Linked DNA regions of Homo sapiens: regions 1, 3, 4 and 5 are each linked to region 2. The links are contacts of gene promoters, found by promoter capture Hi-C in human tissues and cell types (Jung and others, 2019). All regions are on one chromosome and are shown on one strand. Each heading gives the region's core, a stretch centred on a gene start or on the middle of the fragment in contact. The rest is flanking DNA. Distances are from core to core; before and after follow the strand shown. Region 1 has its middle 3.7 kb from the start of ZNF780A. Region 2 holds the start of HIPK4 (homeodomain interacting protein kinase 4). Region 3 holds the start of MIA (MIA SH3 domain containing). Region 4 overlaps SNRPA (small nuclear ribonucleoprotein polypeptide A). Region 5 has its middle 31 kb from the start of NUMBL.

The links. Contacts are between HindIII fragments. The study calls those that stand out against the background at their distance.
Region 1: a fragment that was not itself captured here is called in contact with the fragment with the promoter of HIPK4 in region 2 in 1 of the 25 tissues and cell types used here (dorsolateral prefrontal cortex).
Region 3: the fragment with the promoter of MIA here is called in contact with the fragment with the promoter of HIPK4 in region 2 in 1 of the 25 tissues and cell types used here (spleen).
Region 4: a contact is called between a fragment that was not itself captured here and the fragment with the promoter of HIPK4 in region 2, in 1 of the 25 tissues and cell types used here (dorsolateral prefrontal cortex).
Region 5: a fragment that was not itself captured here is called in contact with the fragment with the promoter of HIPK4 in region 2 in 2 of the 25 tissues and cell types used here (bladder and spleen).

What each region holds. Positions count from the first base shown.
Region 1 is chr19:40,092,070-40,097,242 of GRCh38, reverse strand. No RefSeq gene overlaps it. Among named protein-coding and RNA genes, the nearest start is that of ZNF780A, 3.7 kb to the right of the region's middle. RefSeq lists an enhancer at 2,509-2,598. The HindIII fragment of the contact is 3,361 bases long and covers 1,951-5,173 here.
Region 2 is chr19:40,387,431-40,392,401 of GRCh38, reverse strand. It overlaps HIPK4 (homeodomain interacting protein kinase 4), which reads left to right and starts at 2,221. Exons shown (of 4, transcript NM_144685.5): 1 at 2,221-2,964. The coding sequence starts at 2,500. RefSeq lists enhancers at 1,769-2,318, 2,319-2,868. The HindIII fragment of the contact is 19,093 bases long and covers 1-4,971 here.
Region 3 is chr19:40,771,802-40,776,858 of GRCh38, reverse strand. It overlaps MIA (MIA SH3 domain containing), which reads right to left and starts at 1,338. Exons shown (of 4, transcript NM_006533.4): 1 at 1,190-1,338; 2 at 974-1,107. The coding sequence starts at 1,316. It overlaps MIA-RAB4B (MIA-RAB4B readthrough (NMD candidate)), which reads right to left and starts at 1,322. Exons shown (of 10, transcript NR_037775.1): 1 at 1,190-1,322; 2 at 974-1,107. The HindIII fragment of the contact is 14,863 bases long and covers 1-5,057 here.
Region 4 is chr19:40,755,483-40,760,284 of GRCh38, reverse strand. It overlaps SNRPA (small nuclear ribonucleoprotein polypeptide A), which reads right to left. Exons shown (of 6, transcript NM_004596.5): 2 at 2,781-2,953; 3 at 675-854. Among named protein-coding and RNA genes, the nearest start is that of SNRPA, 6.7 kb to the right of the region's middle. The HindIII fragment of the contact is 9,764 bases long and covers 1-4,802 here.
Region 5 is chr19:40,657,081-40,662,113 of GRCh38, reverse strand. No RefSeq gene overlaps it. Among named protein-coding and RNA genes, the nearest start is that of NUMBL, 31 kb to the left of the region's middle. The HindIII fragment of the contact is 4,666 bases long and covers 1-3,738 here.

The sequences.
Region 1 (5,173 bases), core at 2,382-4,881, 300 kb after region 2:
TGTAGTTACTATAAGGATTACCTAAAACATCTTATAATTGTAGTAGCCTATTTTAAGCTGATAACAATTTAACTTCAACTGCATACAAAAATTCTACACTCTTTGGCCAGTTGCAGTGGCTCACGCCTGTAATCCCAGCACTTTGGGAGGCCGAGGCGGGCAGATCACGAGGTCAGGAGATCGAGACCATCCTGGCTAATGCAGTGAAACCCCGTCTCTACTAAAAATATAAAAAATTGTCCGGGTGTGATGGTGGGCACCTGTGGTCCCAAGCTACTTGGGAGGCCGAGGCAGGAGAATGGCATGAACCCAGGAGGCAGAGCTTGCAGTGAGCCGAGATTGCACCACTGCACTGCAGCCTGGGCATCAGAGCGAGACTCTGTCTCAAAAAAAAAAAAAAATTCTACACTTTCTTCTCTCCTCATATTTTACATTATTGATGTCATAATTTGTACCTTTTTTATTTTTTTTGAGACAGAGTCTCACCCTATCACCCAGACTGGAGTGTAGTGGCATGATCTCAGCTCACTGCAACCTCTGTCTCCAGGGTTCAAGTGATTCTCCTGCCTTAGCCTCCTGAGTAGCTGGGACTACAGGCAAATGCCACCACACCCAATTAATTTTTGTATTTTTAGTAGAGAAGGGATTTTACCATGTTGGCCAGGCTTGTCTTGAACTCTTGACCTCAAGTGATCTGCCCAACTCGGCCTTCCAAAGTATAATTTGTATCTTGTATATATCATGTACCCATAGGCAAATTGTTGTAGTTATAGTCATTTTTAATCCTTTTAGCTTGTTTTGTTTTGTTTGGGACAGAGTCTCACTGTCACCCAGGCTAGGGTACACTGACATGAACATAGCTCACTGCAGCCTCAAACTCCTGGGCTCGAGTTATCCTCATGCCTCAGCCTCCTGAGTAGTTAGGACTACAGCTCTGCACCACCATGCCCAGCTAAATTTTTTTAAATTAAAAAATTTTGTTTGTTTTGTAGAATTAAGGTCTCACTATGTTGCCCATGCTGGTCTCAACTCCTGGCCTCAAGCAATTCTCCCACATTGGCCTCTCAAAGTTTTGGAATTGCAGGTGTGAGCCACTGCACCTGGCCTGTCTTTTAACTTTTAAATGACCTGTCTTCAAGCTCATTAATTCTTTATTCTGCTTAAGTCTGCTCTTCAGGCATTCTATGGAATTTTTCAGTCTGTTATTGTGTTCTTTAGTTCCAGAATTTTTGTTTGCAAAAATTTGCTATGTTTTCTATCTCTTTTTTGAACTTCTAATTTTGTTCCTATATCATTTTCCTGATTTTGTTTAGTGTTTATCTGTATTCTCTTGTTTGCTCACTGAGTTTCTTTAAAACAGTCATTTTGAATTCTTTGCCAGGCATTTTGTAAATGTTCATTTCTTTAGAGTTGGTTACTGATGGTTTATTTTGATTTGTGTTGGTGTCATGTTTTCTTAATTATTCATGATCTTTGTGAACTTGCTTTGGTGTTGAACATTTGAAGAAGTAGGCATCCCTTCTAGTCTTTACAGACTAGCTTTGGTAGTGAAAGCCCTTCATCAGAGATATTGGGTGGGCTGTATAGAGAAGTTTGTGGGTGGGATTACTGCTGAAGTTATCAGACATGCTGGTCTGGTGCCAGGGTCAACAAATGGATAGGCCTGAGGACTGTCCATGGGAACCAGCCTGAAGTCTGGGTCCACAGAGGTTGACCTGGTGCTGGGGTGGTCTGGACATAGGCCCATAATATGCCTTGGTCTTGAGCTCATAGGGGTCACCCTGCTTCCAGGATCCGCTTGGGCAGGCGTGGACCCTGGGTCCACTGGAGCATAGGGTCACAAGAACCAGCCTGGAGCTTGGGTCTGGTCTGGGGCATATTTGGGTCTGGATTCCACAGGGGTCAGTCTGAAGCTTGAGGCTGTGGGTGCTGTCCTAGGGATATGGAGGCCAGCCTGGAGCCTGTGTTTTTAGGTGTGGTTCTAAAGCTTTGGTCTCTAGGAGCTGGCCTGGCACTTGGGGTCTCCTGGGCCAGGTCTGGATATTGGATGCGGTGGAGTGGGTTTGAACCCTGGGTTTGTCAGAGTGTAGGACCATGGGAGCCAGCTTAGAGACTGGAGCCACAGGGGCTGGGTAGGCTGACAGCCTGTATCCATGGGGGTTATCCTGGAGCTTGGATCTGTGGGTGCCAGCTTTGTGCCTGGAGCTGAGGGTGCCACCTTGGAGTTTGGGTCAAGGGGGCCAGCTGGTCATTGGGTTTCAGTGGAGTAGTCCTGCTGCCAGGGTCCACAGCAAAGTTGGTGTTCACTTTATTCATCCTCTAACACGGAGGGTATCTCACCACACTATAATTTCTGGGCTGGGCTTGGGAGAGTGATGGACTAGGTAATGCAAAACGCTCCTTCTTAGCCTCTTTAATGTATCTTTTCCTGTTTCTGTGCTACAGCAAGGTGCTCTAATCTCTTACTTGGATACTTTAGCTCTTGTGAAAGTTTGTTCATGAGTAAACAGATGTTTAAATTGATGTGAGGGCTAAGTGCTGGAAAGTCCCATTCTCCAATCTTGCTGACATCACTCCTCTTAAGATTTTCTATTTCTTCTTGAATCAGTGACAGTTTGTGTAAAGAATTGTTCCTCATCACACACTGGGGCCTGTCGGGGGTGGGGGACTAGAGGAGGGATAGCATTAGGAGAAATACCTAATGTAGATGACAGGTTGATAGGTGCAGCAAACCACCATGGCACGTGTATACCTATGTAACAAACCTGCACATTCTGCACATGTATCCCAGAACTTAAAAGTATAATAATAAATAAATATTGCAAAAAAAGAATTGTTCCTTTCCATTTAGTTTATTTTGTTGGCATACAATTGTTTATAATATTCTTCTATAATCATTTTCATTTCTGTAAGGTTAGTAATGTCTCCACTTTCACCTCTGACTTTAGTAATTTGAGTCTTTTCTATTTTTTTCTCAGTCAATCCAGCTAAGATTTTGCTACTTCTTTTGATCTTTTCAAAGAACCACTTTTAATTTTGTAATTTTTCTGTATTATTTTTCTATTCTCTATTTAACTCCACTCTTATTTTTATTATTTCCTTCCTTTCTTGTCTTCTATTTATTTATTGTTTTGCTATTTTTCATGTTCTAATTCCTAAAGTTGTACAGTTAGGTTGTTGATTTGACATCTTTCTTCTTTTATATAGGCATGTAGAGCTATAAATTTTTCTCTTAGTAATAAGCATATCATAAACTTTGGTAACATGTGTTTTTATTTGTATTTATCTAAAATATTTTCTAAATTTTTGTATTCATTCTTTAATCCTTTGGTTGTTTAAGATTGTGTTGATTTGGCACAAGACAAAGATGTCTTCTCTTACCACTCCTATTCAACATAGAAATTCAACTGAATTTCAGTTATCAGAACTGGCCAACATGAAGACAATGGGATTTAGTCCTACAAATTAAGAAAGAAACTGAATGAATTAAGTCATGAAATATCAGATGGCATACAGGATTTAATTTTGAAATTCTTCAATTTTACTGAGGAATTTCTTCAGCTATGGGAATAGTCTTTTGATGATGCTCCAATTTTTAACTGGATCAATTTGCAATTTGTGTCAGAATGGAGCGCAGTTGAGAAGCCTTATGTTACTGCAGCATCTAAATTTGGCTTAACATTCAAAGGAATCATAAATAGAACCAATATGTTTGCCTTGTAAAGATAATTATCAAAGAAATGTACCCTTCTTAGGGTACAAAAAAGAGATGGCAAAAAAAGAGATGTACCTTGAAGGCAAGATACATTAACTACAAGAATATGAACTGCAATCTAATTTTTCCATATTCAATATTCACAATACTTGTGAGGATATCTTCCATTTCATTGGATATATTCTGAGACTTCTGGTTACCTTAGTATATACAGAGTATATATCTCAGTTTAAAAAGTATGGTGTTCAGAGAAGAGTCATTTGAAGGTAGCTATAATTTTGAGTTTATTAAACATAAAGTCCAACATTGAAGATTGCATAAAATTTTATCAAAATTTAAAAATAATAGACCACATTGAAAGAAAATACTTAAAAAGAATGGTGATATTGGTTAGGAAATCGATTAAAGTATCAGAATATACTTAAATATAATTATTCTCCGCTTTATTCTAATGTTTAGTCAACATAAATAGCTTAAAAATTTTTTTCCTTACTACAAAATTGTTATTTTGCTTTAACGTATATATGTTATTGTTTCACCCTTTAGGATATAACAGAATATTATAATTAATACAGGAATTTTTCAAACATTACATAATTTCAATTACCTTAGTATTCATACCTTTTCGAATTTGTACTACTTTGGACAATATATTATATATTCAGCTATTATTGAGTTCTAATTTAATTCCATTTTTGTCAAAGAATATGCTTTGTATGACTCGAATCCTCTTACATTTATTGAGACTTGTTTTATGGCCCAGAATATGGCCTATACTGGTAAGTATCCCCTGTCCACATAGATGAATTTTACTGTCATTGAGGAGAGTGTTCTCAAATATAAATGAGATCAAGTAAGTTGATATGTAGCTCAAATCTGCTATACCCTGTTGCTTTTCTGTGTTTGTTCTATCAATTACCAAGAGAGATATATTGAAATATCTGACTATAATTGTGGATCTGTCTCCTTTTCGATCTAATAGATTTTTCTTCCCATACTTAGAAGCTTTGCTTTTAGGAGCAAAATTTATGTTTGTTTTTTTCTACTCGATGAGCTATCTCCTTTATCATTATTATGCCCTTCTTTATCTCTGGTAATAGTCTATGTCCGGAGTCTACTTTGTTTTTAATAAAGCCACTCCAGCTTTCTTTTGACTAGTGTTAGGATGGTGTATATTTTTCCATCCTTTTACTCTTAACCTTTTAGTGCTTTTCATTTAACATATTACCTGTAGGTAGCACCCATTTGGGTCTGACTTTTTGTTTATTTATTTATTTAATTATCTTTTTTTATTATACTTTAAGTTCTAGGGTACATGTGCACAAAGTGCAGGTTTGTTACATATGTATACATGTGCCATGTTGGTGTGCTGCACCCATTAACTCGTCATTTACATTAGGTATATCTTCTAATGCTATCCCTTCCCCCTCCCCCGACCCCACTATAGGCCCCGGTGTG
Region 2 (4,971 bases), core at 972-3,471:
TGCTCCTTGGGCACCGGAGGTTCCTCCCGGGCCCTTGTCCACCCCCACACCCTCCCTAGGGTGCATCACCCTCCCCCATGGCTTCCACGCCTCCTCTCTGTGCTGACAACTCCCAAACTCTCTCCTGCATCCCCTTGGGGACCCAGCAGCTTCTGCACCCCTTCTCCAGAGGTCTCCTGGTTTTTAGGAGGTTGTGTGGGTGGTGGTTCAGAGTTTGGCGCTGGAGCCAGGCTGCTTAGGGTCAGAGGCTGTCTCTGGCAGTCACTTGAGTGACCTTAGGCATTTTATTTTATCATTTATTTATTTATTTTTATTTTTTGAGACAGAGTCTCACTCTGTTGCCCATGCTGGAGTGCAGTGGTGCAATCTTGGCTCACAGCAACCTCCGCCTTCCAGGTTCAAGCGATTCTCATACCTCAGCCTCCCGATCTCAGCCTCCCAAGTAGCTGGAACTACAGGTGTATACCACCATGCCCAGCTAATTTTTGTATTTTTAGTGGAGTTGAGGTTTTGTCATGTTGGCAAGGCTGGTCTCAAACTCCTGACCTCAGGTGATCCGCCCACCTTGGCCTCTCAAAGTGCTGGGATTACAGGCGTAAGCCACCACTCCTGGCCAGGCACTTTAAAAACTTCTTTGTGCCTTGATTTTCTCTTCCATAAAATCCCTACTTTGTATGTTGTAAGGATCAGATAAGACTTCTAAAGAACTTCATCCTTGTTTAAATGTTTTGATGTTACATTTTCTTTTACTTTTTTTTTTTTTTTTGAGACGGAGTTTCACTCTTGTTGCCCAGGCTGGAGTGCAATGGCGCAATCTTGGCTCACTGCAACCCCACCTCCCGCGTTCAAGCAGTTCTCATACCTCAGCCTGCCGACCTCAGCCTCTTGAGTAGCTGGGACTACAGGCATGTGCTAACACACCCGGCTAATTTTGTATTTTTAGTAGAGACGGGGTTTCTCCATGTTGGTCAGGCTGGTCTCGAACTCCCGACCTCAGGTGATCCACCTGCCTCAGCCTCCCAAAGTGCTGGGATTACAGGCATGAGCCACCGAGCCCGGCCCGCTGTTAAATATTCTAATCTGGCTGGAGTGGTGGCTCATGTCTACAATCCCAGCACTTTGGAAGGTTGAGGCAGGAGGATCACTTGAGGCCAGGAGGATCACTTGAGACCAGCCTGGACAACATAGTGAGACCCCATTTCTACAAAAAATTAAAAAGATAAATAAAAATGAACACTTTTTTTTTTTTTTTGAGATGGAGTCTCGCTCTGTCACCCAGGCTGGAGTGCAGTGGTGCAATCTCGGCTCACTGCAACCTCCACCTCCCGGGTTCAAGCTATTCTTCTGCCTTAGCCTCCCGAGTAGCTGGGACTACAGGCGCCCTCCACTATGCCTGGCTAATTTTTAGTATTTTTAGTAGAGACAGAGTTTCACCGTGTTAGCCAGGATGGTCTCGATCTCCTGACCTTATGATCTGCCTTCCTTGGCCTCCCAAAGTGCTGGGATTACAGGCGTGACCCACCGCACCCAGCCAAAAATAAATACATTTTCTAATTTGGCCTCAACATCTCCCCCAAGCTGCTTCTTATCCATGTCCATTTCTCGGGGACTGCCCCTTCATCCCAGAGCCCTAGGCCCGTTCTTAGACAGCTCCCGCCTTTCCCTCAAACCGTCGGTCTCACGGCTGCTTCTCCTGGCCTTTTGAGTGTCTCATCCATTGGCCTCGCCCTCTCCTCCCCAACCTCTCCCATCTGTGCCCTGTCCTGGACTCTTTCCCTGGCTTGGGGCTTCCACTCTTACCCGCTCCAACCTATCCCTTTTCATACAGTAACTTTCTGACACTCATATCTGACCCTGCCCTCCCCTGCTCAAAGCCCTTCTGTGGCTCCCCAGTGCCCTCAGAACAGAATCCAAACTCCTTAGCCTGGCATTCAGGGCCTTTTACAACCTCACCCCACAGTAGCCACAGACTGGGACAGGAGTTTTCTGAACACAGACACACACACATCACATCTCCCAAGCTCAAGAAGCCCACCTTTCCTCACTCCTGCCTTATCCCCATTCCTGTATGCCCAAGGCCCACGATTAGACCCCCCTCTGTCAACACTTCACCTGTTTGGTCTTTGCAAGATTCCGCCACTGGGCGGGGGAGGGGGCCCAGCCTGGTACCCCACCCCCACTCCAGCCAGGGCTCAGGTCTCCAACAACAGAACCAGAGCCACTCAACAGCGCTGGAACCCATTCGGTGGGGCCTGGGGCCCCTCATCCCAAGCCAGGAGGGTTTCTGGGGAGGGGTGCAGCCCCTGGCAGACTGACAGTGTGGCCTGGGGGTTTGGGGGTGCCAGGGAAGCAGGGGCCAACCTCATAGGAGGAGACACGAGTGCGGTTCTCTTTCCCCCACTGGGGGGCCTGCTGTGTCAGCAGCCAGGCGGGAGGCCTGGGCGGCAGAGCCAGTGGTACAGGGGCCTGGGCAGGGCGGTGTCTGGCAGCAGCGGCACCATGTCCACCATCCAGTCGGAGACTGACTGCTACGACATCATCGAGGTCTTGGGCAAGGGGACCTTCGGGGAGGTAGCCAAGGGCTGGCGGCGGAGCACGGGCGAGATGGTGGCCATCAAGATCCTCAAGAATGACGCCTACCGCAACCGCATCATCAAGAACGAGCTGAAGCTGCTGCACTGCATGCGAGGCCTAGACCCTGAAGAGGCCCACGTCATCCGCTTCCTTGAGTTCTTCCATGACGCCCTCAAGTTCTACCTGGTCTTTGAGCTGCTGGAGCAAAACCTTTTCGAGTTCCAGAAGGAGAACAACTTCGCGCCCCTCCCCGCCCGCCACATCCGTACAGTCACCCTGCAGGTGCTCACAGCCCTGGCCCGGCTCAAGGAGCTGGCTATCATCCACGCTGATCTCAAGCCTGAGAACATCATGCTGGTGGACCAGACCCGCTGCCCCTTCAGGGTCAAGGTGAGTAGGGGTCGTCTAGGGTGGCTGCGTCCCTAGTTCCTTGTCTTTTTCCCAGCTTCTTCCAGCCCTAGATTTTTTTTTTAATTTTTTAAAATTATTATTATTATTATTTTTGAGACGGAGTTTCATTCTGTTACCCAGGCTTGAGTGCAGTGGCACAATCTCAGCTCACTGCAACTCCGCCTCCTGGGTTCAAGTGATTATCCTGCCTCAGCCTCCCGAGTTGCTGGGATTACAGGGATGCGCCACCACGCCCAGCTAATTTTTTTTTTGTACTTATCAGAGACGGGGTGATGATGGCATGATCTTGGTTCACTGCCTCCGCCTCCCGGGTTCAAGCGATTCTCCTGCCTCAGCCTCCTGAGTAGCTGGGAATACAGGTGCCCGCCACCCATGCCCGGCTAATTTTTGTATTTTTAGTAGAGATGGAGTTTCGCCATGTTGGCCAGGCTGGTCTCAAACTCCTGACCTTGTGATCCACCTGCCTCAGCCTCCCAAAGTGCTGGGATTACAGGCGTGAGCCACCACGCCCAGCCAATTTTTGTGTTTTTTGGTAGAAACAGGATTTCATCATGTTGCCCAGGCTGGTCTCAAAGTCCTGAGTTCAAGCAATCTGCCCACCTTGGCCTCAACAAAGTGCTGGAATTACAAGTGTGAGCCACCATGCCCAGTCCTCTGTCTGCTTTTGAGTTTGATACTGTCTGGATGCTTCTGAACCAGGGGCACCCTGAGGGCAAGGCTGGGGCTGACTTAATCATCGCTGTGTCCCTGACATCTCCCAGCACTGCAGTCATGGAGCCAGTGCTAAATGAATGCTTGCCAGAGACACAGAGACAGAAAAAGGTGGATTATTCTGCCCCAAGAGGTGGAAGGACAGAGACCCAGGGAAGCAGGGACTTCCACAAACACAGCAGGGGACAGACAGGACGGATCCACAGCACCTGGCCGGCATTATCACCCCCACTGTCTCTGTGGAAGGAATGAATTCATTCCACAAACATAGACTAAGTGCCCAGGGTCACTCAGCCTCTTGGGTACTGAAGCCCTGGCACTCTGGGATCAGAATAGCAATTAATAACCATTTCATGATACTGCTTTCTGCAAGTGAAAGGTGAGGGATGGCCAGGTGCGGTGGCTCACGCCTGTAATCCCAGCACTTTGGGAGGCCGAGGCGGGTGGATCACCTGAGGTCAGGAGTTCAAGACCAGCCTGACCAATATGGTGAAACCTCGTCTCTGCTAAAAGTATAAAAATTAGCCGGGTGTGGTGGCGGGCACCTGTAATCCTAGCTACTCCAGAGGCTGAAGCAGATAAATCGCTTAGAACCCGGGAGGCAGAGGTTGCAGTGAGCTGAGATTACGCCACTGCACTCCAGCCTGGGCGACAGAGGAAGTCCCTCTGTCTCAGAAAAAAAAAAAAAAAAACTAAACTAAAATTAGCTAGGCGTGGTGGCACATACCTGGAATCCCAGTTAGTTGGGGGGCAGAGGCAGGAGACTCACTTGAACTTGGGAGGCAGAGGTTTTGCAGTGAGCTGAGATCACGCCACTGCACTCCAGCCTGGGCGACAGAGCTCGACTCTGTCTCAACACAAAACAAAAACAAAAAACTGAGAAATGGCTGAATGAAAAGCAGAAAAACTCAGAGAAGGAAACAGGCTGGCCAGGTGTGGTGGCCCAAGCCTGTAATCCCAGCACTTTGGGAGGCTGAGGCAGGTGGATCACCTGAGGTCAGAAGCTCAAGACCAGCCTGGCCAACATGGTGAAATCCTGTCTCTATTAAAAATACAAAACTTAGCCAGATGTGGTGGGGTGCACCTGTAATCCCAGCTACTTGGGAGGCTGATGCAGGAGAATCGCTTGAACCCATATGGGGGCGGAGGTTGCAGTGAGCCGAGATCATGCCGCTGCACTCCAGCTTGGACAAAAGAGTGAAGCCACCTGAAAAAGAAAAAGAAAAAGAAACAGGCCAAGAGAGAGTCACGGAGATTCAGGGTGAAAATGGCAGA
Region 3 (5,057 bases), core at 89-2,588, 390 kb before region 2:
GTCATATGAATCTCAGCTTAAATGCCACCTGTTCAGAGGCCCTTTCTGAACACCCAAGTAAGTCTCTGTTAATTCTCACAGCAGCGCATATTTGCTTTTATTATTATTATTATTTTGGAAACAGGGTCTCATTGTGTCGCCCAGGTTGAGGTGCAGTAGCATGATCACGGCTCACTGCAGCCTCAACTTCTGGGATCAAGCAATCCTCCCACCTCAGCCTCCCGAGTAGCCGGGACCACAGACACATGCCATGAAGCCCAGTTAATTTTAAATTTTTTTTTATAGAGATGGGGGTCTTGCTATGTTGCCCAGGCTGGTCTCGAACTCCTGGGCTCAAGCTATCCTCCCAACTTGGCCTTACTTGGGATTACAGGTGTGAGCTACTGTGCCCGGCTGCTGCTATTTTTTATGCCTTGCTTTTTGTTCATTTCCCTCCATTAGAATAAAAAGGATCATTTGTTGTTGTATCTTGGTGTCTAGAACAGAACGTGGGACCATATCAGGTCCTAAAATTGGTAAATAAAGTGAAAATAGGCTGGGGGGCAGTGGCTCACACCTGTAATCCCAGCACTCCGGGAGGCCAAGGCGGGCAGATCATGAGGTCAGGAGTTCAAGACCAGCCTGGCCAATATGGTAAAACCCTGTCTCTACTAAAAATACAAAAATTAGCCAGGTGTGGTGGTGCATGCCTGTAATCCCAGGTACTTGGGAGGCTGAGGCAGGAGAATCGCTTAAACCCAAGAGGTGGAGGTTACAGTGAGCCGAGATCGTGCCATTGCACTCCAGCCTGGGTGACAGAGCAAGACTCTGTCTCGGAAAAAATTAAAAAATAATAAGCAAATAAAATAAAGTAAGTAACAATATCCCCCCACAATGTCTATTTCAGTTCACCCCCCTCAAATCTTCCCTTCATGGGGATAATGAGTCTACCCCAGCTCTGTACCCTTCCCTCTTTCACTCTCCCAAGACTCACGCTGCCTCCCCAGAAGAGCCGCCCACGGCCCTTCAGCTTGGAGAAGACATACACCACTTGGCCCCGGTGAATGGTCAGGAATCGGCAGTCGGGGGCCATGTAGTCCTGAAGGGCCACAGCCATGGAGATAGGGTCTAGGGAAGGAATAGAAGGGAATGCAGCACCCTCCACACAGGCTAACGCCCAAGCCCCCAATTCTCCCCTCCCCATTCTTACGGCTGCACTCCTGGTCCGCACACAGCTTCCGGTCAGCCAGCTTGGGCATAGGACCACCCCTGACACCAGGTCCGGAGAAGGCAGACAGCAAGATGATGACACCAAGGCACACCAGGGACCGGGCCATCGTGGACTGTGAGCAAGAGAGTGAGCAAGGGGGTGCTGGGGTCTCCAATTTCCTCCCCTCCCTCTCTCCCGTAGTACAAGGAAACTTGTGTTCTTGGTCTTGTCCCCGCCCTAAACCAGTCCCAAACTTCGCCCACACCACCTAGAAGTTGCTATGAAACCAGAACCATTTCAAGGATAGGGTAAAGGCTGTAAGCCCAAGGAAATTCCCAGATAAGGTCCAAAGCAGCTCACAACTTTCCCAGTGACAGCCCCCTCCTCAACAATCACAGAGGCCTAGATAAGGTGGTTGAAATATTCAATTCCATCTTCTCTTGAGTTGGCTTAGGTACCTGGGCTCCTCCGCTGTCCCCTCTGGCCACAGAAGCGGAGGAGCCTGTAAAGAAAACCACCTTGGAATTTCCTGTGCTGTGGGGCAGGAGAACAAGGCAGCCCTTTGATTACCAGAAACAGCCCAGCCCTTGAGTACTGACTGAATATTGTATGCTGAACCTTAGGCTAGGCAAAGTCCCACCATGATCACTATTCCTCTGCACCAGACGCTTCCCACTGGATGACCTGGGCTAAGCTATTTCTCCTCACAAAGCCTCAGCTTCCTTATATGTAAAATGGGAACAATAAAAAAGCCAATAGTTACAGAGCATTCACCAAGTACATATTTATGTTATGAACTCAAATGGATACTCTGTATCATGTCAGGAGGAGTGATTATAACCCCTCCCTTTTTTTTCTTTTTTGAGACAGGGTCTCACCCTGTTGCCCAGGTGGAGTGCAATGGTGCCATCCCGGCTCACTGCAGCCTCAACCTCCTAGACTCAGGCAATCCTCCCACCTCAGCCTCCTGAGTAACTGGGACTACAGGCACAAGCCACCTATGCCCAATTAATCCATTTTTTTAAATAATTATTTTGAGGTAGAGTCTTGCTCTGTTGCCCAGGTTGGAGTGCACTGGCATGATCCTGGTTCACTGTAGCCCCTATTTCCTGGGCTCAAGCATTCCTCCCACCTCAGCCTACCGAGTAGCTGGGACCACAGACATGTACCATTATGCCCAGTTAATTTTTTGTATTTTTTGGTAGAGCCGGGGTTTCGTCATGTTGCCCAGCCTCGTCTCAAACTCCTGGGCTCAAGCAATCTGCCCACCATGGCCTTCCAAAGTGCTGGGATTACAGGCATGAGCCACCAAGCCCAGCCTAATTTAATTTTTTGAGACAGGATCTTGCTGTTGCTCAGGCTGAAGTACAGTGATGTGATCATAGCTCACTGCATCCTCAAACTCCTGGGCTCAAGAAATCCTCCCCTCTCAGCCTCTCGAGTAGAATAGTAGGCAAGTCACCATTCTTGGATGATTTCTTTTATTTTTATTTTTCTAGAGCCAATGTCTTACTGTGCTGCCTGGGCTGGTCTTGAACTCTTGTCCCCAAGTATCCTCCCGCCTTGGCCTCCCAAAGCACTGGGATTACAGGCATGAGCCACCAATGCCTGGCCTATAACCCCTTGTTACATGGAAATGGAAGTGTGGAGTTAAGGAACTTGTCTAAGGCTTACAGAGCCAGGAAGTGGAGAAGTGGAGAGGCTAAGACTTGTATCCAGGCCCACAGCCATTGCTATGCTATCTTTTTTTTTTTTTCTTTTTTTTCTTTGAGATGGAGTCTCATATTGCAGTGGTACAATCTCAGCTCACTGCAACCTCCACCTCCCGAGTTCAAGCAATTCTCCTGCCTCAGCCTCCCGAGTAGCTGGGATTACAGGCATGTGCCACCATGCCCGGCTATTTTTGTATTTTTAGTAGAGACAGGGTTTGTCCATGTTGGCCAGGCTGGTCTCGAACTCCCCACCTCAGGTGATCCACCCGCCTCGGCGTTCCAAAGTGCTGGGATTATAGGAGTGAGTCACCGCGTCTGGCCTGAAAGATTTTTTTTTTTTTACAGGCAGGGTCTCACTCTGTCACCCAGACTAGAGTGCAGTGCCACAATCACAGCTCACTCAGCCTTGAACAACTGGGCTCAAGCTATTCTCCCACCGCAGCCTCCTAAGTAGCTGTGACTATAAGTGTGAGCCACTGCACCTGGCTTTGAAATGCAATTTCTTTTTTTTTTTTTTTTTTTTTGAGACATTGTTTCGCTCTTGTCACCCAAGCTGGAGTGCAATGGCACGATCTTAGCTCACTGTGACCTCCCCCTCCCGGGTTCAAGTGATTCTCCTGCCTCAGCCTCCCAAGTAGCGGGGATTACAGGCATCTGCCACCATGCCCAGCTAATTTTGTATTTTTAGTAGAGATGGGGTTTCACCATGTTGGTCAGGCTGGTGTCAAACTCCTGACCTCAAGTGACCCACCCACCTTGGCCTCCAAAAGTGTGGGGATTACAGGTGTGAGCCACCGCACCCGGCCCCACTTTAAAACACTCTTTAAAAAATTATTTCTTCATTCAGGCCAGACATGGTGGCTCACTCTTGTAATCCCAGCACTTTGGGAGGCTGAGGCAGGCGGATCACTTGAGGTCAGGAGTTTTGAGACCAGCCTGGCCAACGTGGTGAAAATACAAAAATTAGACAGGCATGGTGGCACACACCTGTAGTCCCAGCTACTTGGGAGGCCGAACCAGAATCACTTGAAACTGGGAGGTGGAGGCTGCAGTGAGCCAAGATCACGCCACTGCACTCCAGCCTGAACGAGAGAGTGAGACCCTGTCTCAAAAAAAAAAAAAAAAAAATCCGCCGGATGCAGTGGCTCACACCTGTAATCCCAGCACTTTGGGAGGCTGAGGTGGGTGGATCACCTGAGGTCAGGAGTTCAAGACCAGCCTGGCCAATATGGTGAAACCCTGTCACTACTGAAAAATACAAAAATGAGCCAGGCATGGTGGCGCATGCCTGTAGTCCCAGCTACTCAGGAGGCTGAGGCAGAAGAATTGCTTGAACCTGGGAGGTGGAGGTTGCAATGAGCCAAGATCATGCCACTGCACTCCAGCCTGGGTGACAGAGTGAGACTCTGTCTCAAAAAAAAAAAAAATCATTTCTTCATTCATTGAAGATTTCATGAGTACATAAAGTATCCTAGGACTTAATCCAGACCCTGGAGATTCATCAAGGAATGAAAATTAAAGGGGAGATAATCAATGAACAAAGTTCAGATATATGATAGTGTGTGAAGTATTAAGGATACTCAGAAAGAACACTCAAGAATCAGCTGTGGGAACCGTGCCCCCTGCCCCATATTACTGATGAAGCCACAAAGAAATAGAAGTGACTTCAATTCCCAAAGCACAGTGCATGTATCTCCTGCTGCATAATTAGCCTAAGACCAACATTGCCCCAGTGCAGTGGCTCATGCCTGTAATCCCAACACTTTGGGAGGCTGAGACAGGAGGATTGCTAGAGCCTAAGAATTTGAGACCAGCCTAAGTAACACAGGGAGACCCTTGTACCTACAAAAAGAAGAAAAAAAGAGAAAAACTAGCTGTGCATGGTGGTACAAACCTGTAGTCCCAGCCACTCAGGAGGTTGAGGTGGGAGGACCACTTGAACCCAGGATGTAGAGGCCGCAGTGAGCCATGATCGTGCCACTGCACTCTAGAGCAAGAACCTGTTTAGAAAAAAAAAGACCAAAATTATCACCTTTTCTGTGGGTCGAATGTCTCAGGCTTAAGGTCTGCTATAAGGCTGCAATCAGCCTGTCAGCCAGGGGTGCAGTTTCATCTGAAGGCTGAATGGTGGGAGGACTGCTTCCAAACTCATTCAG
Region 4 (4,802 bases), core at 1,487-3,986, 370 kb before region 2:
GCATGTAATCCTAGCACTTTGGGAGGCTGAGACAGTGAGTTTGAGACTAGCCTGGGTGATATGGCTAAGCCCCGTCTCTACAAAAAATGCAAAAGTTAGCTGGGTGGAGTGGCACGGACTGACAGTTCCAGCTGCTAGGGAGGCTGAGGCGTATCACTTGAGCCTGGGAGGCGGAGGTTGTAGTGAGCTGTGATGGCGCCACTGCACTCCAACCTGGGTGACAGTGAGACCCTGTCTCAAAACATAATATGAATAAATAAATAAAACTAATTTTTTTCCATATTGCCTTTATATCCAGCGATCTTTCTAAATTTAAGTTCACTTATTAATCCTAACAGTTGCTTAGTAGACACTTGGATTTTCTACATGCACAATGAGTTACAAGACACAGGCGACAAAATCAAGGCCACGGAGAGAGCGAAACCAAGTCATAGCCATGAAGAAAGACCTTGAGAAACAGTCACAAGGAGGGAACAAGAGTTTCGAAAGGAGATAGCATCATCTAGGTGCTCAATACCCCCCAAAAGAGAGAGAGAAACACATCTCTATAAAGAAATGGAAAGGAGGGGTCTGAAGCCCCAAGGGGAGAACTCTCCCCACCCTGTCCCAAAGCCAGTCCATGTGGCTGAGGAAGGTCTGGCAGTGGGAGGGTTGGTCTCCGGGACCTGGCTTACCGGGACAGGCCCCTGGACAGCCCCCACCACGGGGGTGGCTCCCCCGCCTTGCACAGCCTTCTTGGTGGCCGGGGTCTCCTGGCTCTTGGGCTTCCTCTTCTCCCGCTTGCGGTCCCGCTCCACGAAGGTGCCTTTCATCTTGGCAATGATATCTGAGTCGGTCTTGGCATACTGGATACGCTACCAAACAGAGAGCAGAACGGGTTAAGAGCGTGGATTCAGAGCCCAATTGCCAAGATTCAAAATTGGACCTTTATCAGGGGCCAGGTGCTGCGGCTCATGCCTGTAATCCCAGCCCTTTGGGAGGCTAAAGCGAGCAGATCACTTGAGGCCAGGAGGTGGAGACCAGCTTGGCCAACATGGCAAAACCCCATTTCTTTGTTTCTTTTCTTTTTTTTTTTTTTTTGAGACATTGTCTTGCTCTGTCACCCAGGCTAGAGTGCAGTGATGAGATCTCAGCTGACTGCAACCTCTGCCTCCCGGGTTCAAGCAATTCTGCCTCAGCCTCCCTACTAGCTGGGATTACAGGCGCCCACCACCACGCCTGGCTAATTTTTGTGCTTTTAGTAGAGACAGGGTTTCACCATGTTGGCCAGGCTGGTCTCGAACTCCTGACCTCAGGTGATCCACCCACCTCGGCCTCCGAAAGTGCTGGGATTACAGGCATGAGCCACTGCGCCTGGCCAGGAAACCCCATTTCTACCAAAAATACAAAAATTAGCTGGGCATGGTGGTGCGCACCTGTAGTCCCAGCTACTCAAGAGGCTGAGGCAGAAGAATCGCTTGAACCCAGGAGGCGAAGGTTGCAGTCAGCTGAGATGGCACCACTGCACTCCAGCCCAGGCAACAGAGCAAAAAACAAAAAACAAAAAACAAACAAACAAAAAAAAATTCAGACCTTATCAGGAGCTTACTGAGAAACACAGAAATATCTTGGCCTTAACTTCCTTGTCTGAAAAATGGGGATTATGATACTTCCCACTTCAAAGGACTGTTGTGAGGACTAAATGAGTTAAAGTGCTTGGAACAGTACCTGACACACAGTAAGCAAGTGTTCAGTAGAAAGGCTGTTGGTATTTTTAAGGGAAGCTGGAACAGCAATAAACATCAGGCCAAAGGACCGAGGAGACAATGCTAGGAGAGGAGTGCAGTGCAGGGGGATTTCCTGTCACACAAGAATACTTCAGTCTTCCAGGTTCAATCTCACTCACTTAGCTGTTTAAGGAGAACCTGCCAGATGCCAGGCGCCATTCAAGGCTCTGGGAATAAAGCAATGAACAAAATAGACAAAAACCCCTCTTTCATGGTGCTTATTCAGTAGGGGAAGGTATGTTAAAGATTCTTAGTGTGGCACAGTAGCTCACGCCTGTAATCCTAGCACTTTGGGAGGCTGAGGCAGGCAGATCACTTGAGCTCAGGAGTTTGAGACCAGCCTGGGCAACATGGCGAAACCCCGTCTCTACTAAAAATAAAAAAATCAGCCAGGTATGGTGGCACGTGCCTGTAATCCCAGCTACTCAGGAGGCTGAGGCAGGAGAATCACTTGAACCCGGGAGGTGGAGGTTGCAGTGAGCCAAGATTGCACCACTGCACTCCAGCCTGGGCAACAGAGGAAGATTCTGTCTCAAAATAATTTATTTATTTATTTATTTATTTATTTATTTTTTCTGAGACAGAGTCTCACTCTGTTGCCTAGGCTGGAGTGCAGTGGCAGGATCTCGGCTCACTGCAATCTCTGCCTCCCGGGTTCAAGCAATTCTCCTTCCTCAGCCACAGGAGTAGCTGGGACTACAGGTGCATGCTGCCACACCGAGCTAATTTTTGTATTTTAGTAGAGACAGGGTTTCACGGTGTTGCCCAGGCTGGCTGCAAACTCCTGAGCTCAGGTAATCCACCTGCCTCGGCCTCCCAAAGTGCCAGGATTACAGACGTGAGCCACCGCCCTCGGCCAAAGAAAAGATTTTTAAATGAGGCAAGGTGCAGTGGGAGCCTGGTCCAGCCTCACCTTGGCAAATGAACCGTAATATCCCCTCCTCTAATCCAGGCCCGCCCAGTCTCCTATAACATTTTACACACCCACACAGCCTCCGTACCCGCAATGCTCACCATAGGTTTGTCATAGAAAGGGAAACCCTGCATGGAGCGCAGGGCGTTGGTGGCGCTGCTGACCTCCTTGAAGATGACAAAGGCCTGGCCCCTCATCTTCAGGCTCCGTGATACCAGGATATCCAGGATCTGGCCAAACTGGGAGAAGATGGCGTACAGGGACTTTTTTAGCTCTGCAGTGGGGGAAAAAAAGACCTTTGAGCTCCCCTTTTTAGAAGAAGCGCAGCCCAAATAGAAGACCATCAGCCAATTGATGGGGTACCCAGAATGCCTCGGGTCCATAATCTCTCAAGACCTAACAATCACAGAAGCAGCCAGGAACCACTCAAGTGGCCAAGTACACTCTTCTACTCTTCTGTAAGATGTGCTTACAGAGAGCTGCTATATAATGAACATGTGCACATACATGCAAAGTGCTCAGGACAGCATCCGGCACGTAGTAAACACTCGATAAATGAGTGATTCTTTTCACTGCCACCAGCACCCTGACATGGGCCTGCATGACGTGGCCCTGGCAGATTTCCCCCACCTCATCCCTGCCCACATTCCACCGCCCTCCTGAGTTCCCAACCACACTGGCCCCCAGGTCTGACACACCAATTTTGCCCCAGGGCCTTTGAACTGGCTGCTCTCTTTACCTGGAACATCCCTCCCCTGAGGTTTACATGGTGGCCTCCTTCTAGTCACCCAGTCTCAGAGGAAATGTTGCCACCTCTGACCACGACGTCTAAATTTCTTCCCATGTCATTCTTACTCTACTTCCTTTTCTTTCATGACTATTTCCCACCTCCTGTCATGGTACGTTAACTTGTCTATCTTGCCTGAGGAGCTATAAGCCTGTCCCATTTGTTTACTGCAGTATGCCAAGCCTAGCACAGACTCCACCACAATTTTTTTTTTTTTTTTTTGGTGACAAGGTCTCACTTTGTCACCCAGGCTGGAGTGCAGTGGCATGATCATGGCTCACCGTAGCCTCAACCTCCCGGACTCAAGCGGTCCTCCCACTTCAGCCTATGGAGTAGCTGGGACCACAGGTGTATGCCACCATGCCCAGCTAATTTCTGGATTTTGTGCAGAGACAGGGTCTTGCTATGTTGCCCAGGCTGGTCTTGAACTCCTGAGCTTCAGCAATTAGCCCACCTTGGCCTCCGAAAGTGCTGGGATTACAGGAGTGTGCCACCACACCTGGCTGCAAACATTTGACTAGATACCATCAAGTGCCTTTTTTTTTTTTTAAAGACAGAATCTCCTTCTACTGCTCAGGGTGGAGTTCAGTGGCATGATGGTAGCTTACTACAGGCCTGACCTCCCAGGCTCAAGCAATCTTCCCACCACAGCCTCCCAAGGAGCTGGGACCATAGGCACGCAGCACGACGCACGGCTAATTTTTTATTTTTTGTAGACACAGTCTCCTATGTTGGCCAGGTTGGTCTTGAACTCCTGGGCTCCAGTGATCCTCCTGCCTTGGCTTCCCCAAAGTGCTGGGATTACAGGCATGAGTCATCGCACCCCCATCAAATGCTTTATGGAGGTAACTTCACTTCCTCACAACAAACCCATTAGGTGGCAACTATGACTGTCCCAATTTTACTGGAAACAGGTTCTCAGAGGATTCCTCACTGGCCCAGGGCATCAATCTGGAGGGCATAAGGAAGCGTATGGCAGAGCCCAGTCCACGTATTCCATCTGAACCCGGTACCACCACATCTCACCAGCAAAGGGCATCACTTGACAGCAAGTGAGATTCAAGCTCAACAAGGATGGACTCCCTCTCACCACCCAGGTCTGCAAAGGGCACCAATGTCTTATGCAAAGAAGATGGCTGAGATGGCCAAGCATGGTGGCTCACACCTGTAATCCCAGCACTCTGGGAGGCCGAGGTGGGCAGATCCTTTGCACTCAAGAGTTCAAGACCAGTCTGGGCAATAGGGTGAAACCCTGTCTCTACAAAAGATACAAAAATTAGCCAGGCATAGTGGTGCATGCCTTGTGGTCATAGCTACTTGGGAGGCTGAAGTGGGA
Region 5 (5,033 bases), core at 156-2,655, 270 kb before region 2:
GTATTACCAAGGTAACATTTATTTCCTCCCTCAACACTGGTTTTGTTTTAACAGCTTTACTGAGGTATAATCTACCTGTCATAAAATTCACCTATTATAAGTGATTTACTGATTTTGGGTGATTTTACAGTTCTGCAGCCATCACAGCCAATTCAAGAACATTTCCATCACTCTGAAAAGATCCCTTCTGCCCATTTGCAGTCGCTCCCTATTCCCTGTCCCAGCCCCAGGCAACCACTGGTCTACTTTCTGTCCCATACATATTCTCTTCTTCATTTTACAAGCATTTTCTGAATATTTATTTTTATCAGCTATTGAGGGCTGAGGGTACACAATGAAACTCACAGGCCCTGCCTTCAGGGAACTCAGAGTCTGGTTATTGTAATAGCTGATGGGAAAATATGTCCATGCACTAATTTCTTCATTCATTCAAAAAACATTTATTGGCCAGGCACTGTGGCTTGTGCCTGTAATCCCAGCACTTTGGGAGGCTGATTGGGGAGGGTCACTTGAGGCCAGGAGTTCAAGACCAGCCTGGAAAATATAGTGAGACCCCCCCCCCCACCCCGATCTCTACAAAAAAATTTTTTTTTTTAATTATCAAGGTGTGGTGGTGCACACCTATAGTCCCAGTAACAGGAAGCTGAGGTGGGAGGATTGCTTGAGCCCAGGAGGTCGAGGCTGCAGTGAGCCATGATTGTGCCACTGCACTCCAGCCTGGGTGACAGAACAAGACCATCTCTACAGAAAAAAAAAAAAAAAAAAAAAAGAGAGAAAAAGAAGGGTCTTCCAAAAATTCATGGAAAATGTGTATTATGAAAAAACTATGCATGGAGTTCAATTTTTTTTTTTTGCACCAAAATAAATTCATACTAACTTGTTATAACTTGTCTGAACAGGACCTAGTTTGAGACACTAAAATAAAACATCAGATTGAAAAGAGCCCCTATCAGAGCAACACGAATTCTAAAATTGAAGCAAGAACAAGCATCAAATTGATGGTGAAGCTTGGGTGGAAGAATGATGAAATCATTGATGTTTTCCAAAAACTTGACAGTGCCCCAGAGAAATCAGCCATTTACAAATGGATAACTCGTTTTAAGAAGGGACAAGTTCGGGCGTGGTGGTTCACGCCTGTAATCCCAATACTTTGGGAGGCTGAGGCCAGCGGATCATTGGAGCTCAGGAATTCGAGACCAGCCTGGGTAACATGGTGAAACCCCATCCGTACAAAAAATACATAAATTAGCTGGGTGTGGTGGTGCACACTTGTAGTTCCAGCTACTCAGGAGGCTGAGGTGGGAGGATCACTTGAGTCTGGGAGGTAGAGGTTGCAGTGAGCCGTGATTGCGCCACTGCACTCCAGCCTGGGTCATGCTGAAGATGAAGCCCACCGTGGCATACCATCCACATCAATTTTTGCAGAAAAAAATTAAATTTGTTTATGCCTTAATTAAAGAGGACTTACAGTTAACAGCAGAAACAATAGCCAACACCATAGACATCTCAATTGGTACAGCTTACACAATTCTTTTTTCTTTTTTTTTTTTTTTTTTTTTGAGACAGGGTTCTCATACTGTCGCCCAGGCTGAGTACAGTGGTGAGATTGTGGCTCACTGCAGCCTCAACCTCCTGGGCTCAAGCGATCCTTCCACCTCAGCCTCCGAAGTAGTTGGAACTACAGGTGCGTGCCAGCACGTTCAGCTAAGTGTCACACGCGTCCCTGTGAAGAGACCACCAAACAGGCTTTGTGTGAGCAACAAGGCTGTTTATTTCACCTGGGTGCAGGCAGGCTGAGTCCAAAAAGAGAGTCAGCAAAGGGTGGTGGGATTATGATTAATTCTTATAGGTTTTGGGATAGGCGGTGGAGTTTGGAGCAATGTTTTGCGGGCAGGGGGCGGATCTCACAAAGTTCATTCTCAAGGATGGGAAGAATTACAAAGAAACTTCTTAAGGGTGGGGGAGATTACAAAGTACATTGATCATTAGGGTGGGGCAGAAACAAATCACAATGGTGGAATGTCATCAGTTAAGGCTATTTTCACTTCTTTTGTGGCTCTTCAGTTGCTTCAGGCCACCTGGATGTATACGTGCAGGTCACAGGCGATATGATGGCTTAGCTTGGGCTCAGAGGCCTGACACTAAATTTTCGTATTTTTTGTAGAGATGGGGGTCTCATTAGGTTTCCCAGGCTGGTCTTGAACTCCTGGACACAAGTGATCCTCCTGCCTCATTCTCCCGAACTGCTGGGATTACAGGCTTGAGCCACCTCACCCGGCCTCAGCTTACACAATTCTGACTGAAATTAAAGCTAAACAAACTTTCCACTCGATGGGTGCCAGAACGGTCGCACCCAGATCAGCTGCAGAGAAGAGCAGAGCTTTCCATGGACATGCTAAACAAGTGAGATCGAGATCCTAATGCATTTCCTTGAAGGATTGTAACGGGAAATGATACATGGTTTCACGGGTGCAATCCTAAAGACAAATCGTAATCAGAGAATGATTGCCAAGAGCGGGGAAGTGATCCAGTCAAGGCAGAAGCACACTGGTCAAGAGCAAAGGTCATAGCAACAGTTTTTGGGGATGCTCAAGGCATTTTGCTGGTTGACTTTCTGTAGGGTCAAAGAATAATAAGATCTGCTTATTATGAGAGTGTTTTGAGAAAGTTAGCCGAAGCTTTAGTAGAAATAAGCCTGGGAAGCTTCACCAGAGAGTTCTTCTCCAGCATGTCTACGCTTCTGCTCATTCTCCTCATCAAACGAGCAATTTTACAAGTTTTGATGGGAAATTATTAGGCATCCACTTGGCAGTCCCAATTTGGCTCCTTCTGACTTTTTGTTTCCTAATCTTAAAATCTTTGAAGGGCACCCATTTTTCTTCAGTTAAGAATGTAAAAAGACTGGGCTGGGCGGAGTGGCTCACGCCTGTAATCTTAGCATTTTGGGAGGCCAAGGAGGGTGGATCACCTGAGGTTGGGAGTTCAAGACCAGCCTGACCAACATGGCAAAACCCTGTCTCTACTAAAAAAAAAAATACAAAAATTAGCCAGGTGTGGTGGCTCATGACTGTAATCCCAGCTAGTCGGGAGGCTGAGGCAGGAGAATCACTTGAACCCAGGAGGTGGAGGTTGCAGTGAGCCGAGATCATGCCACTGCACTCCAGCCTGGGCAACAAGAACAAAAAAAAAAGGCCTGGCACAGTGGCTCACAACTGTAATGCTAGCACTTTGGGAGGCCGAGGCGGGCAGATCACCTGAAGTTAGGAGTTTGAGACCAGCCCGGCCAACTTGGCAAAACCTCGTCTCTACTAAAAAAAAAAAAATTAGCCAGATGTGGTGGTACATGCCTGTAGTCCCAGCTACTCAGGAGGCTGAGGCAGGAGAATGGCTTGAACCCGGGAGGCAGAGGTTGCAGTGAGCCGAGATCATACCACTGCACTCCAGCCTGAGCAACAGAGTGAGATTCCATCAAAAAAAAAAAGAAAGAGAAAATGTAAAAAGGCTGCACTGACATGATTAAATTCCTGGGACCCTCAGTTATTTAGGGATAGACTAAATGGCTGGTATAATGGTTTACAAAAGTGTCTTGACTTTGACCTTGATGGAGTTTATGGTGAGAAATAAAGATTTTTTTAAAATTTTTATCTCTTAATTCCATTCTCCATCAACTTTTTGAATTCCCCTCATAACACAATAGCAATTTGTAGCTCATACCTATAAGCTTAGATAGCATACAGTAGCTCATACCTATAAGCTTAAGTAGACATTTACATAACTTTTAGATATCTATAGTACGTAGATAGCTACAGATCAATGTAGATGTCGAAAGAGAAAGAGCGAGACCAGGCCAGGTGGTTCACGCCTGTAACCCCACTGCTTTGGAAGACTGAAGCAAGGGGATCGCCTGAGGCTGGAGGTTCCAGACCAGCCTAGACAACATAGCAAGAACTCATGTCTACAAAAAAATTCTTTTCATTAGCTAGGTATAGTGGCACACACCTGTAGTCTGGGCTACTCGGGAGGCTGATGCAGGAGGGTCTCCCGTGCCTAGGAGTTTGAGGCTGCAGTGAGCTATGATCGAATCATCGTACTCCACCTGGGCAACAGAGAAAGACCCTGCCTCTTAAAACACAAAGAAATAGGCCCAGCACAGTGGCTCACGTTTGTAATCCAAGCACTTTGGGAGGCCAAGGTGGGGGGAATCACTTGAGCCCAGGAGTTTGAGAACAGCCTGGGCAACATGGTGAAAACCCGTCTCTACAAAAAATACAAAAATTAGCTGGGTGTGGTGGTGGGCACCTGCAGTCTCAGCTACTCAAGAGGCTTAGAAGGGAGGATCGCTTGAGCCTAGCAGGTTGAGGCTGTAGTGAGCTGTGATCACACCACTGCACTCCAGCCTGGGCAACAGAGTGAAACCCCATCTCAAAAACAAACAAACAAACACACACACACAAACCAAAACAAAAACAAAAACACAAAAGGCCAGGTGTGACGGTTCACGCCTGTAATCCAGCACTTTGGGAGGCCAAGGCAGGCGGATCACCTGAGGTCAGGAGGTCAAGACCAGCTGGCCAACGTAACAAAACCCTATCTCCACTGAAAAATACAAAAATTAGCTGGGCATGGTGGTGGGTGCCTGTAATCCCAGCTACTTGGAAGGTTGAAGCAGGGAGAATTGCTTGAACCTGGGAGGCAGAGCTTGCACTGAGATCGCACCATTGCACTCCAGCCTGGGTGACAGAGCAAGACTCCGTCTCAAAACAAAAACAAACAAAAAACTGCAAAAACCTAGTGAATCCATATCCACAGTATATTATTATATCTTCTACTTTTCTTGCAATTCTTTTGCATGTTTAGAAATTTTCTAAATAGAAGGGTGGGGGTAGGGGTGTGGTAAGCATCTGCCTTAGAGGAAAGCAGGAATTGTCCATGAGTGGCATATGTGGAATGAGGAGAGGAAGTGCCTCCATATTGCCTGGGTTTCTGGCTTGAGGTCCCAGGTAGAGACATTTTTGAGACTGGGAAGATTGTGA